Linked DNA regions of Homo sapiens: all the other regions are linked to region 1. The links are contacts of gene promoters, found by promoter capture Hi-C in blood cells and fetal thymus (Javierre and others, 2016). All regions are on one chromosome and are shown on one strand. Each heading gives the region's core, a stretch centred on a gene start or on the middle of the fragment in contact. The rest is flanking DNA. Distances are from core to core; before and after follow the strand shown. Region 1 holds the start of ZMYND11 (zinc finger MYND-type containing 11). Region 2 overlaps LARP4B (La ribonucleoprotein 4B). Region 3 holds the start of WDR37 (WD repeat domain 37).

Region 1 (4,339 bases), core at 471-2,970:
ATGGCTTGCTTTTCTTCTGACACGTTTTAACCCCTCTACTAAATTTTTAGCGATATATATTTACTCTTAAAATGAATTACAATTATTCTGTGATGTTCTTTGAGATAATCAAAAACTCTCTGGGATGTATCAGATTGAGGGCTGTGAATAGCATGAAAGATTGTGTTTATTTGACTAGTGTATATCACAGACCTATTCAAGTACCACCCATTTCTAAATTCTAACAGTCTTAGAAACCAGCTGTAGAAGCAGATTGATATATTTTATCAGAATCCCCAAATTCCTACAACCGTCTCTTCCTAATGACTTTTCAGGTGGGGACACGTGCCAAGACGGCCAATAGATACCTGAAACCCGGGGTAGTGCTGAACCTTACTTACACTACGTTTTCTCCTATACACACCTGCCTATAATAAAGTTTAATTTAGAAGTCAGGCACAATGAGAGATTAACAACACTAATAATAAACCAGAACAATTATAACACTATACTGTAGTAAAAGTTATGAGAATGCGGTCTCCCTGAAAACACCTTGCTGTCCTGTACTCACCGAATTTCAGAGCAGAGGACTCTGACTGACAGGTGTTCCCCGACTCCCAGTGGCGAAAGGTCCTCAGGGAAAACAGGTGAACGCTATCAAAGTATGCTTATCTCCGAACCTTTCTTAAACCAGAGTCTTAAGGGATCGTCTCTGATTAGGTCTAGAATTCCTCTCCATAGAAGATAACCTACTTCTCGCGCAAATCTGCAGTGTTCTTGCAGGGCTGCTGATGGGTGGTCCTGTTCTTTTCGCGGTCCTGTTTGCGCAGAGATGAAACGGGGAACTTAGCGTATCCCTACCGCTCTTTTTGATGACAGGAGTAAAGGGCTGTTCAGACTACCTAAACAATGTTGTTAAGAGAAGCACTCGTACTTCTCAGACTTCGCTGTTCCGGACCCCGCGAGCCAGGGGCAGGCACCGGGTCCACCCGGGGCTGAGCTGCGGCGGCGCCTGACAATGCCCCCTCGCGCCCCGGCCTCGGCGCCCGCTCCCGGCTCCAGCGCGCCTGCACGTACGTAGCCTTCACGTGTGTGTGGATACGGAGTGCATGTGTGGAGACAGAGGAATATGCTCCAACAAATTTCGGATAGAGGCGCCGAAGACAGGACGTGGGGAAGGTAGGAGCCGCGTGCACGGCTCCGGCCCCGGGCGGGAGGCGGCCGCGAGCCGGGCCGGCCGCGCGCAAGTCCGGCGCCAGCCGCTAGAGCCCCCAGTGCGCGGCCCGGCCGCGGGGCGCCTCGACCCGACACAATAAACTCCGAGGGCGGGCGGGCCGAGGGGCCGGTGGGGCCGAGCGGCCGCCCCGCGCGCATCGCCATGTGAGCGGCTGCCGCGGCTTCGCGGGGACCCAACTTTCCCGGGCGGCGGCGCCCAACTTCCCGCCGCCCGCTCCGGCCCCGCAGGCCCGCGGCGCCAGGGGAAGACGCGAGTAAGTGCGGGCGGCGGTGCCCTCCCGGCCCTCACCCCGCACGCGGCGACCCGGCCGCCTAGCCTCCCTCGCTCAGGCGCGACCGCGGCGTTCTCTGAGGTGGAGTATTACAAACATGGCGCCCCTCGAGCCCGGAGCCCTTCGCGCGGAGCCGGCGGCGGGGTCCGGGCGGGGGGGAGCCGGGGAGGAGGGAGGAGGCCGGCAGGGAGGAGGAGGAGGCGGCCTGAGCGTCCCCCCCGCCCCCCGCGCCCGTCGCCGGCTCAGGCCCGAGAGGCGCCGGGCGGCGGGAAGGAGGCGGCACCGGAGGGGAGGGCCGGGCGCGGCGGCGGCGGCGGTGGAGGAGCCGGAGCATAATGGTGGGGAAAGCTCGGCGGCGGGGCGGCGGGGCGGGCGGGGGCGTCCGTGGAGATGGCGCGGCCCGCGCGGTGGAGCCTGCCTGGCCGCGGCCTCTGGGGCGGCGGCGGCACCAGTGGGTGCTGACGGTCGCTCGCCCGCTCGCGAAGAGCTCCGAGCTGCCGGGGAGCTTTGTGGATGGCGGGGCGGGCCGGGCCGGCGGGGCCTGCGAGGGCGGCGGCGGGGCCTGCGGAGGCTGCCGGCCCGCGCCCACTCGCCTTGGGCGGCCGCGGAAGAGGCCCCGGGATGAGGCCCCGGAGGACCGCGCGGGGCCTGCTCGGGCCGGGAAGCCGCGGAGTCGCGTGAGCACCGCCCGCCGGGCCCTGTGCCCCGCTTTCGGTCAGGCCTCCTGGGCCCGTGCGCAGTCCGGGCCGGCGGGGAACGCGGCTCCGGGCGTGTGGCGGGCGGAGAGGAAGCGTTTGTCGGCGCGGCACGTCGTGTGCTAGCCCGGGAGCGGCGGGCAGGGCTGGCCCCGAGGCCCGGGGCGGAGATTCGTCGGTCCCCCGGGGCTGTGAGCGACCCCGGCAGCGAGGCCGCCGCCTCAACAGGTCCTCGCGGACCTCCGGGACAGTCCTGTGGGGTCCGCCGCCCTCCTCCCACCCAGAGCTCCGGGGAGAAGCTGCTGAGGACGCGGCTGGGACGAGGGGGGGCGCCGGGACCCGGACTTTCACTTGCAGTCTCTCCTCGCGCTTTTCTCCCGAGCCGGGAGGAGGAGGAGCTGGCGATGTGTGCGCCGTGCCCGGTGTCTTTTGCAGAGTGACCGCCGTACCTGTTTTATTCGTGTGTACCAGTGCTCGTTGTGCAGTGCGGTGTCCTATGCGGTGGGTACGCAGTACCGGGGATTATATATGGTGTGTACTCTGTGTCATATGCAGTGTGCTCGAAGTACCCGGTGTCGTACCGGCTATCATACACGGTGTGTACATGTATCTTCCTCGCTTAGGCTGTGCACTCAGCCCCCGGTATTGTGTGCAGTAGGTGCCTGGTACCCTGCTGCCATATGAGCTGTGCGTGTGGTACTCCATGTTATATACGAGTGTATGTAGTATCTGGATAGTATTGAATATATTTACCTTACCTGTTGTCACATACAGTGTGTATGTAGTACCTGGTGTCATATATGCGGTGTGTATAGTACCAGGTGTCATATACTGTGTGCACACAGTACTTGGGGTCATATATGGTGTGTACATAGTATCCTTTCACACTGTGTATGCAGCACCCAGTGTCATATACAGCCCTTACGCGGTTCCCGGTATTTTGTGCAGTATGTGCACGGTACCGTGCTGCCATATGCGGTGTGTATGCAGTATTCAATGTCATATACGTTAGGTATATAGTATCTGGTGTCATATACAGTGTATATACACTACCTGGTGTTATCTATGTTTTGTATATATATCTGGTGGCATGTACAGTATGTATACATTACATAGTGTTATATATGGTGTGTAGGTAGTACCCAATGTCATATGCCATGCATATATGGTACCCAATGTCATATGCACCATGCATGCACTATCCTTGTCACATAAGCTGTACTCAGTGTCAGATGCAGTGTGTACCTAGTACCGAGTGTCATATGTACTGTGTACACAGTACCCACTGTCATATTCAGGGTATCTAGTACCCTGGGTCATATACAGTGTGTACATGGTATCTGGTGTCAAGAATGTGAGCCTGGAGGAGATACCCAGGTGGCCCATTCAGGACCCTGCTGGTAGGAGGGAGTGGTGCAGGTTGGGTTTTTAGGGAGGTCTAGAGCCCTTGGTCCTCCTCACTTAGGTGTTCTGCATCCCACAGTAAGCTGAGTCATATGGAGGCAAGAACATTCTTAAAAATAATTTAATCTGTTTGTCCAAAAGCAGAAAGTAAATGTTTACTTGTTTTCCTGTAAACTGAGAAATATAGTAATTTTAGCTTAGTAATTATGGTGTGCACAACGTTTTCAGATTTTTGAGGTTGATTTTAATTAATGGTTGGATGTTATCAGGGAGATAGTGTTGGTTGTACTTTGAAAGTTGAAAAGTTAGAGTGCTTTCTGGTAGGCAGGGTCATCTTTGTAGTTTTTCTGAATGTCTTTTTACAAGCAGGAGAAAAAATATGAATGTCTGTAGAGGCATTTAATTTGCCTTGTCTTTGACTAACTGGCACAGGTTACATTATAGTTGTTATTTTTGGTTGACTCATCTTTATAAGATGACCAGGCTAGAGAATCAGAGATCAGAGGATATGGGATGTGATTATGACAGAATCAAAATATTTGTCTTGCTTGACTCTGTTACTTAAAGGATTTCTGTATTTCACATGGTGCTTTTCCCCCATAGAGATTGCTCATATGAAAACCAACTCTTCCTTTTACAGTCTCTAAATTGGACAATTTATTTTTGCAATTACCATTTGTGAGGTGTTTAAATAAATGTACATGTACGAGCTTCCAGCTTCACAAAAAGAAATCAATTAAAATGTTAAAATTT
Region 2 (4,454 bases), core at 1,223-3,722, 790 kb after region 1:
CAAAGCAGTCTGGAGGACTCCTAAAATATCTTTTTAAGGATGGTTTAAGGAGCTAAGTAAATATTTTAAAAATTTTTTTAAAGGAGGTGGACATTCAATTTCAGTCAAAGAATCTACCAACAGCAATGGCTACAACGTTTGCAACACCAAGGTAGGAGAGGGAGGCGTGGTCCTGATTAAAAGGTGGGGCAGGGCAAGAAGGAAGACACAGAAGTGGAAGCACACACAGGGCGAGGCCTAGGGCAGTCCTGATGAGTTTCTGAAAAGAGGCCAGCCATCAGGCTATGCCACACTCTGGCTACAGTGCGACTAAAATGATTTGTGTAAATAAAAGAGCATTTTATTGGGCAAATTTATGCACATCAGACTTCATAAAGAACACTTTCAGCAAAGATCAAGTCTCATCTCTATGATTATCATACTCCCCCTAAAAAACTAAGCAGTACGCTTTCAAATTTGTGTTAAACATGGCCGGGCGCAGTGGCTCACGCCTGTAATCCCAGCACTCTGGGAGGCCAAGGCAGATGGGTCACTTGAGGTCAGAAGTTCAAGACCAGCCTGGCCAACACAGTGAAACCCAATTTGTACTAAAGTACAAAAATTAGCCGGGCGTGGTGGCACGCACCTGTATGTAGTCCCAGCTACTCAGGAGGCTGAGGCAGGGGAATCGCTTAAACCCTGGAGGCAGAGGTTGCAGTGAGCCGTGATCGTGCCAGTGCGCTCCAGCCTGGGCAACAGAACGAGACTCGGTCTCAAAAAAAAAAAAAAAAATTGTGTTAAACATGAAATACTTTCAATATTGCAATGTACTCCATGGTCTAGGTCTCCTAACCAGGGCAATGGGGTTGATGGGAAAGAAGATGTAAAACCAGTAGCATCACTGAACTGCAAATCCTTTATGGTTGAAATAGGAGCCATGACAGCTTCACCAGAAAAACTATGAGAAGACAGAGTTTATAAAGGCATTGAAGGGACAAAAGGTATTAAGGTATGGGGTGGCGGGGGGGCAGTGAGAAAGAGAAGGGAAGGAAACACAGCTGAGTTAATAATTTTCCTTGTTCCTAAGGAAGGCATTTACACACAGGAAAAACAAAGCATTAGAACGTTAGGGGAAAAAACTTTCAAGTTGGAATTTATCTCCCTTCTTTTGAGAACCTAGCAGTTTTCTACCTTACAATTCCATGTTCTAAAAAAGGAATTCATTTTCCAATCAAAATAACTCTAGAAGTAGAGTAGTTACAAAGATATCAACCAGCATAAGAGCAAAAAGTTTAAACTGAACTAAACTCAGACCTGATGAGGTTAACTCTCTGAGTGCCTCATTTACTTCGTACTCTAAAATAAGCTTTTACAGAAAAAGGAGAACTCTTCACATCAATAAAGTTCTACAAAAGAGCATAAGCAAGGAAACCCTTACAGCAGTGTCTGTTTTTAACAAGGTATTTTCCAAAAACATGACTTCAGTGTTCATGTCTTCTCCCCATTGGAAAAAGGTTGTTTTGAGAATTTTGTAGAAGAAATTACAAGAATATACTCCAAGATTTTTGTGCAATTTATCAATCTGAAAAGAATATCCCTAAATCTGACAGAATCTATAAGAGTACTGTATGCATGATAAAAGCATATTTAAAACTTGTACCTTTGGCCAGGTACGCCGTGGCTCACGCCTGCAATCCCAGCACTTTGGGAGGCCGAGGCGGGCGAATCACCTGCGGTCAGGAGTTCAAGACCAGCCTGGCCAACATGGTGAAATCCCAACTCTACTAAAAATACAAAAAAAAAAAAAATTAGCCAGGTGTGGTGGAGGGCACCTGTAATCCCAGCTACTCGGGAGGCTGAGGCAGGAGAATCACCTGAACCCGAGAGGCGGAGGATGCAGTGAGCCAAGAACGCACCATTGCACTCCAGCTTGGGCGACAAGAGTGAAAGTCCGCCTCAGGAAAGAAAAAAAAAAAAAAACTTGTACCTTTAACACTAGGATAAAAACAAATGAAATCGATTGATGGTAACACATCTATACAGCTTTTTTACAACTTTGAGAGGCCCTAACATAGACAACACGTTACTAAGATTAGAAGACCTAGATTATAATCCTAGCTATCACTATTTTGACGGAAAATATGAATTTTAACATGACAATGAAATAACAGTGAAAGGAGTTTGTCAGCCACTCCTTGGCTGGTAACATCTACCATAGCCTATCACTACAAAAACTTGCAAATCTATGTAGAGTAGCTGCAGCTACCTGAAGGCACTGTTCATTGTAAACACCATTAACAATTTGATGTCCCAATTTGCATGTTTTGGGGGTGGGGGGAGACAAGGTCTCACTGTTGTCCAGGATGGAGTGCAGTGGCAGGATCATGGCTCACTGCAGCCTCAACCTCCCAAGCTCAAGCGATCTTCCCACTTCAGCTTCTCCAACAGCTGGACTACAGGTGTGAGCCACCATGCCTGGCTAATTTTTTGATTTTTTGGTAGAGATGAGGTCTCTCTATGTTGCCCAGGCTGGTGAACTCCTGGGCTCCTAAACTCACCTAGGCCTCCCAAAGTGCTGGGATTACAGGAATGAGCCACCTCACCCAGCCTGCACGTATTTTAGAACTACATTTTAAGATAATGTGAAGACTGCTTCATAAAAACACCTTAAATATATACTTGTCAAAACTTGTGCTTACTTATGGAAATTGCATTAAATTCAATAAATTCTTTAAATCTCACTTTTAAAAATGGCAATCTTCCCGAACATTAAACCAAATTACATTTCTCCCTGAATTTGCTGCCACTTAATTTCAGCTACTCTTCTACAGAATAGTACCCATGTTATCTTTTTTTCTGTCTGGTTCCTACTCAAAAAGAGTGGAACTGCTTTCTCCAAATATGCATTCTGTGCTCAGAAGCTGTTTTCTCTGCCCAGATACATGTGTAAACAAGCCAAAAAAAACAAAACAAAAAAACAAAAACAAAAACAAAACTTTCTGCTAATAGATTGACAGCTACAAGGTAGAATATTTTAAAAATTCAGTAAGCTGGGCGCAGTGGCTCACTCCTGTAATCCCAACACTTTGAGAGGCCAAGGCAGGTGGATCACTTGAGGCCAGGAGTTCGAGACCAGCCTGGGCAACATGCTGAAACCCCGTCTCTACTAAAAATACAAAAATTAGCCAGGTGTGGTGGCATGTGCCTGTAAATCCCAGCTACTCGGGGGGCTGAGGCAGGAGAATAACTTGAAGACCTAGGAGGTGGAGGTTGTAGTGAGTTGAGATCGTGTCACTGCACTCCATCCTGGGTGACAGAACAAGACTCCAACTCGGGGGGGGAAGAAAAAAATCAGTAATAGTGAAAATAGCAAAACCAGACAACATTTCCATGTTTGTGTTACAACAGTCCTAAGAAAATGAGATTATCATCATCCCCCTGTTACAATTGAGAAAATGTAGGCAACACGAGGGTAACTTCTAATGAATAAGCCATGCCTTTGTTTCATATAAATAAGTCAACTCAACTCACATTAACTTTTCAAAATACCGGATAAAATTTATTTCTAACCAATGCAAGTTTCAAAGATAAGTACACAAATTAAATTTATGATTAAATAATAAGCTTGTTAATCTGATGCCTTTCGGAACGCATTTCACTTAGCAAACCTCAATTAAGCTATTTCTTATATGGTTTGATTACAAAACTGCCTTTCAGCATATTAAATACAAGGAGAAAAAACTGAAAAGCCACAACGATTTCAACTTCTGTAAATTACCCTGACTGTAATGAGGGGCGCCAGGCAGGTTGGGGAAGTATGGAAATTGCACACTGCACACACCACCTGACCACCAAGAAAAAAGAGGACACCACTCTTCCCCACTGTGGTCTTCACAAACTACAACTCAGCACCTATTTCAAGTGCATTTAAATATTCAAACAACTGAAACTAAGAGAAAAAAACTTTCGAAAGGGAAAATAACTTGTCTGTCCCCTTCAATGTTCACCTTGGAGTTGCTCTCATCTCTAGAAAAAGGCCTCACGCATACTGTTTATACTTACAAACTCCACTGCCCTGTCAAGGAAAACCTTCCTGTTTTCTCAGTTATCCAAAACTTCAAACTTCCAATTTACTATTAAGACAAGTTATTGGGCATCCACTTAGAGAATCTCAAACGAAAGCCAGATAGGAGGTAGTTTTCTACAGCTAGGTTTCTCAAGTTTCATCTCAGCCAAGTTTTAAGAACGTTTTACGTAAAAATAAGGGGAAAAGCAAAATTACATTCGCATGAAGTTTCGACGCACAACGGCACTGAAACGGAAAGACTCTTCACGTTCCCAAGCGCACCCTGAGAGGCAGGTGCAGCAGCTTTCCGATGGCTTCTCTGCCGCCCATGTATCCCAGCCCCAAGACCAACACAGGCAATCTTCACATCTGACTTTATTTTTTTAACTCCTTCAGATCCACCTCTGCT
Region 3 (4,085 bases), core at 134-2,633, 920 kb after region 1:
TAGAAATTGGTTTTCTGAGACAGGATTCTCCACAGCTTCTGCAGGAGGGAGAATGTAACTGGATACCAGGATTGCAATCATAACCTTTTATAATTTCGGCTAGTTTTGTGTCTTTTAAAAAAATTACATTGGATAGTTATTTCAGGATACAGTGTGTTATGGGTTAAATTGTGTCCCCCTTTCAAATTCATGTGTTAAAGACCTCACTTCCAGTATTTTATAATGTGACCTTATTTGGAAACAGGGTTGTTGTGGATATGATTAGTTAACATGAGGTCATATTAAAGTAGCGTCTACTGTACTCCAATATGACTGATGTCCTCATAAAAAGAACGCTAAGTGTGCAGACAGACACGGACATGGAAAACGTCATGTGAAGACTGGCGGGGGCATGCTGCCACAAGCCAAGGAATGCCTAGACGCTGAGATGCATTAACAGGCTCCCATCACAGCTCTCAGAAGGAATCAACCCTGCCAATACCTTGATTTGGGACTTCCAGTCAGACCTCTGACAATAAATTTGTTTAAGCTGCCTAGTTTGCAGTATTTTGTTCCTGCAGCCCTAGCACATCAACAGTGAAAAGAATATGGATTCTGATGCCAGCCTTTAGTCTTTGCCCTGCTGCACGATTATTTTTGACTTTTGACGAGTAATTTCCACATTCTCATGCTTAAAATTCAATTTAGAATAACTTTTACTTTATTGGATTCCTTTGGGGATTAAATTAGTTACAAAAGATGTAAAGCGACTGATCCTCAAAATGATTTCTTTCCCTTGTTTTGTGACATGTCATGCTCTCAGTTATTTTCAGTGACTTTTATGGAATCCTAAATATATCAACTTAAAAAATTACATTAGCGATATTCTTGGTGTTACCTGACTGTGGTGCGGTCCAGAAAAATAAAACCACCTGTTAGAATGCGGGTTAATTAGATGGGACACTGCGATTTACAAAGCTTTCTATTTGCTGCCATGCCCAGTACAATGTCTTTGCATACTAGGTACTAAATAAAATTATGTTACTTAAATGTCACAACCTCTAAAAGTTTAAAAAATGACTTCTCTAAAAACTCAAATATTTTTTTCCTTGGCGTTCCTCTTACAGAATTGTTTTTAGTGATAAAGTTTTATTAATATACTTAATGCAGAAATAACTTCACTTCTTTTTTTTTTTTGGTAATCTGGATCCCCTAAATAGAATGCTAAATTTGTTTCTTGTGCAACAAACAAGTTACCACTTCTGACTCTTCATCTTGAGCTTCCTTATTTTTTTTTGGAGACGGAGGCTCGCTCTGTCCCAGGCTGGAGTGCAGAGGCGCGATCTCGGCTCACTGCAACCTCCGCCTCCCGGGTTCAAGCGATTCTCCTGCCTCAGCCTTCCGAGTAGCAGGGGTTACAGGCGCGCGCCGCCACGCCCGGCTAGTTTTTGTATTTTTAGTAAAGACAGGGTTTCACCATGTTGGCCAGGCTGGTCTCGACCTCCTAATCTCGTGATACGTCGGCCTCGGCCTCCCAAAGTGTTGGGATTACAGGCGTGAGCCACCGCGCCTGGCCTTGAGCTTCCTTTTTAAAGGAAGGAGCAGGAATGTTAACCTACACAGAAAAAAAAAATGCTTTCACGCTCTTGATTTACTCTAGGTGGGCTTCAAATGCGCGGTTAGCGCTTTCTGTAGAGCGTTGAGACGGCTGTTTACGTAAAGACCATCATGCGACGTTTCCAACCTAGATTCTAAGAAAAAAGCGGCCCAAGTCCCACCTTTCGCAGGGAACAGCTGATTCTGTTTTTCCTTCCCAGCCAATGGTGATCAAAAGCTTCAGGACGCTGGTGAGTCACTGCGGAGGAGCCGAACACTGACCGCGCCGTCCCCGCCAGGCTCCCGCGCGGCCGGCACCGCGGCCCTGAGCGCAGGCGGCCCCGGGTCTCAGGCCTCAGGCGGACCGCGCCCCGGGCTCGCAGCCCTCCCGCCCCGGCTGCCGGGCTACGGGGCAGATGGACTCGGAGCGCCCCGCCGGTGAGTAGCTACGACCCCCGAGGCCACCTCCCGCGAACCGCTCGGCGGCAGGAGTACGTGACCAAGGGTGGGGGCGTTGGCCCAGCAGCCGAAGGGGTCTTCAGCGCGCCCAGACCCCTCGGGGCTGCGGGGCGGAAGCCGGGGCGTGACTTCCGGCGCCGCCGGGTGTGGGGCGGAGGTGTGGGGCGGCTTCCGGAGAACCCAGCGGCGCGGGACTGGGGCGGGACTTCCGGCGACACCGGAAGTGCATTAGCGCCAGGTTGGGGTTGTGGGGTCGCGTCAGTGCGGAGACAGCGGTGTCCTGCGCGTCTTCGGGTCAGTACGGGGGGCCGCGTCGTAGGGACTCACTGGCGGTGCGCGACCTGGGCTGGCTCCGGGGGTGGCGGGCGCAGCTGCTGTGACAGGTGAGTGCCGCCATCTTCCTACCTGTCAGGCGCCGAGTCGTTCCCCGGATGCCCCGAAGAGGAGTCGGGACACTGCAGGGCTCAAGGGGGTGCAGGGGCAGTCGGGGCATAGTGGCGGATGGGGTGCAGGTGGGCTTGGAATGCAGAGGGTCCGTGGTGGTGCAGGAGGGGTCGGGTCCCTGGAGGACCCGTGGCGGTGCAGGAAGGGCCGTGGTGCAGAAGGGTTCAGGGTGCAAGAGAAGTCGGGGCGCAGGAGTAGTCCGTGGCGGTGCCAGAGGGACCAGGGTGCGGGAGGGATGGGGGCCCGGGGCGGTGCAGAAGATGTCGGAGTCCAGGAAGAGTCGGGGCGCTGGAGGGGTTGGGGGCAGAAGGGTTCGGCCCGGGGTCTCTCCCCGCCCCCTTTGCTTCGGCCTGGGCATCCCGGGGAAGTGCGTCTCCAGGGAAGCACTTGGGAGGCCCTTCAGAGAGGAGAATGGCCTTTCTTCTCTCCAAAGAGTGGGGATGGTCGGCTTCAAGAAGGGTGGTGAGTGTGGAGTGACGGATGCTGAAGTGATTAACACAGCGCCATGATATTGTTCCCCTTTTGAAGACTTCCTTTTCCTTCCCTTCCCCCTGAAAGCAGCCACCGCTGGAGGGAAACATTTTAAGACAGCTGTTCACCGGAATAACACAAGAGCAACAATAATAATGTACTCATTTACTAAACCAAGTTGAATAAATACATTTTTCCAGGTTGTGAGTGAAAATAGCTTAAGGTCTGCCAGGTTTTTAGAGATTTTGTCATTTAACTTAAACGCTAAAACATTCGTCCCTTGAAGCGGATACCATTATAGAAAAGTGTTAATTGCTTGGAAGTTTCATTTATTGAAGTTCAAGTGTTTTTCTCTTAAATTCAGTATGTTGGCCTGTGAGTTACGGTCATAAAAGTATTGCAGGAATTATTTACCTCTGAATGAGAAAGCTCAAGATAGTTATATCTCCAGGAACTTTCTTCGTCTTCTGAACTTCCCCCAACCCCAGCAGACACACACACTGTTCTGGTTACTTTCCTGATCAAATTCGAGTCTTTCAAAATAGCTTTTGATATGTCCCAGGAGTTAAACACGGTATGTAAATATGAACTCACCAATGTGGAACAAATGGAGTGATCTGTTATCCCCTGGGTTTAGACGCTGCCTTTCTATTAATACTGCTCACAGGAGACAGAGTAGGGACTCGTGTGCACTGGCCACGTCTCAACAGCAGTGTGACCTTGGGCAAGGCCTTCCTAAGTCCCGACTCCCTGTCCTCTAACATGGTGTTCATATCAGCCTCATTTTCTTACTGGGAAGGTTACGTTATGTAATATATGCCAGCCATTTTTGCAAAGTGCTGTATACAGGAGATCTTGAGTGAGTGTGTTTCCCTCCTCCTCTTTTTGGGTAGCTATGTTAGGCTGTTCACTTTGGGCATTTGCCCTGAACTAAAATCCCTAAGTCCCTTTCCCCAAGGTGAAACTAAGATAGAGTTTTCATATTTATCCTGTCTTATTCTTTTCAGGGAAAAGATTTTACATCTGTTGAATTTCATCCTTGGTTTAAAGTTGTTCTTTTAACTACTGAGATCTTTTGAAAATCTTGATGGCTATTTATCTGATTAATGGTATTTCCTAATTGATTGTCATCCACA

Evidence for each region. The method cuts DNA at HindIII sites, captures the fragments that hold promoters and counts their contacts. A CHiCAGO score of 5 or more calls a contact.
Region 2: a contact is called between a fragment that was not itself captured here and the fragment with the promoter of ZMYND11 in region 1, in 2 of 17 cell types (fetal thymus and total B cells). The highest score is 9.1, in fetal thymus.
Region 3: a fragment that was not itself captured here is called in contact with the fragment with the promoter of ZMYND11 in region 1 in 1 of 17 cell types (total B cells); the score reaches 6.4 in total B cells.

The regions. Positions count from the first base shown.
Region 1 is chr10:133,735-138,073 of GRCh38, forward strand. ZMYND11 (zinc finger MYND-type containing 11) reads left to right here and starts at 1,721. Exons shown (of 15, transcript NM_001370100.5): 1 at 1,721-1,825. RefSeq lists silencers at 963-2,522, 970-1,148. The HindIII fragment of the contact is 13,901 bases long and covers 1-4,339 here.
Region 2 is chr10:926,286-930,739 of GRCh38, forward strand. All of the region lies in intron 1 of LARP4B (La ribonucleoprotein 4B), which reads right to left. Among named protein-coding and RNA genes, the nearest start is that of LARP4B, 3.2 kb to the right of the region's middle. The HindIII fragment of the contact is 2,258 bases long and covers 1,344-3,601 here.
Region 3 is chr10:1,054,552-1,058,636 of GRCh38, forward strand. It overlaps WDR37 (WD repeat domain 37), which reads left to right and starts at 1,834. Exons shown (of 14, transcript NM_014023.4): 1 at 1,834-2,417. It also overlaps a transcript of IDI1 not described here. RefSeq lists silencers at 1,312-1,371, 1,802-2,231 and enhancers at 1,482-1,531, 2,332-2,391, 2,492-2,551. The HindIII fragment of the contact is 856 bases long and covers 956-1,811 here.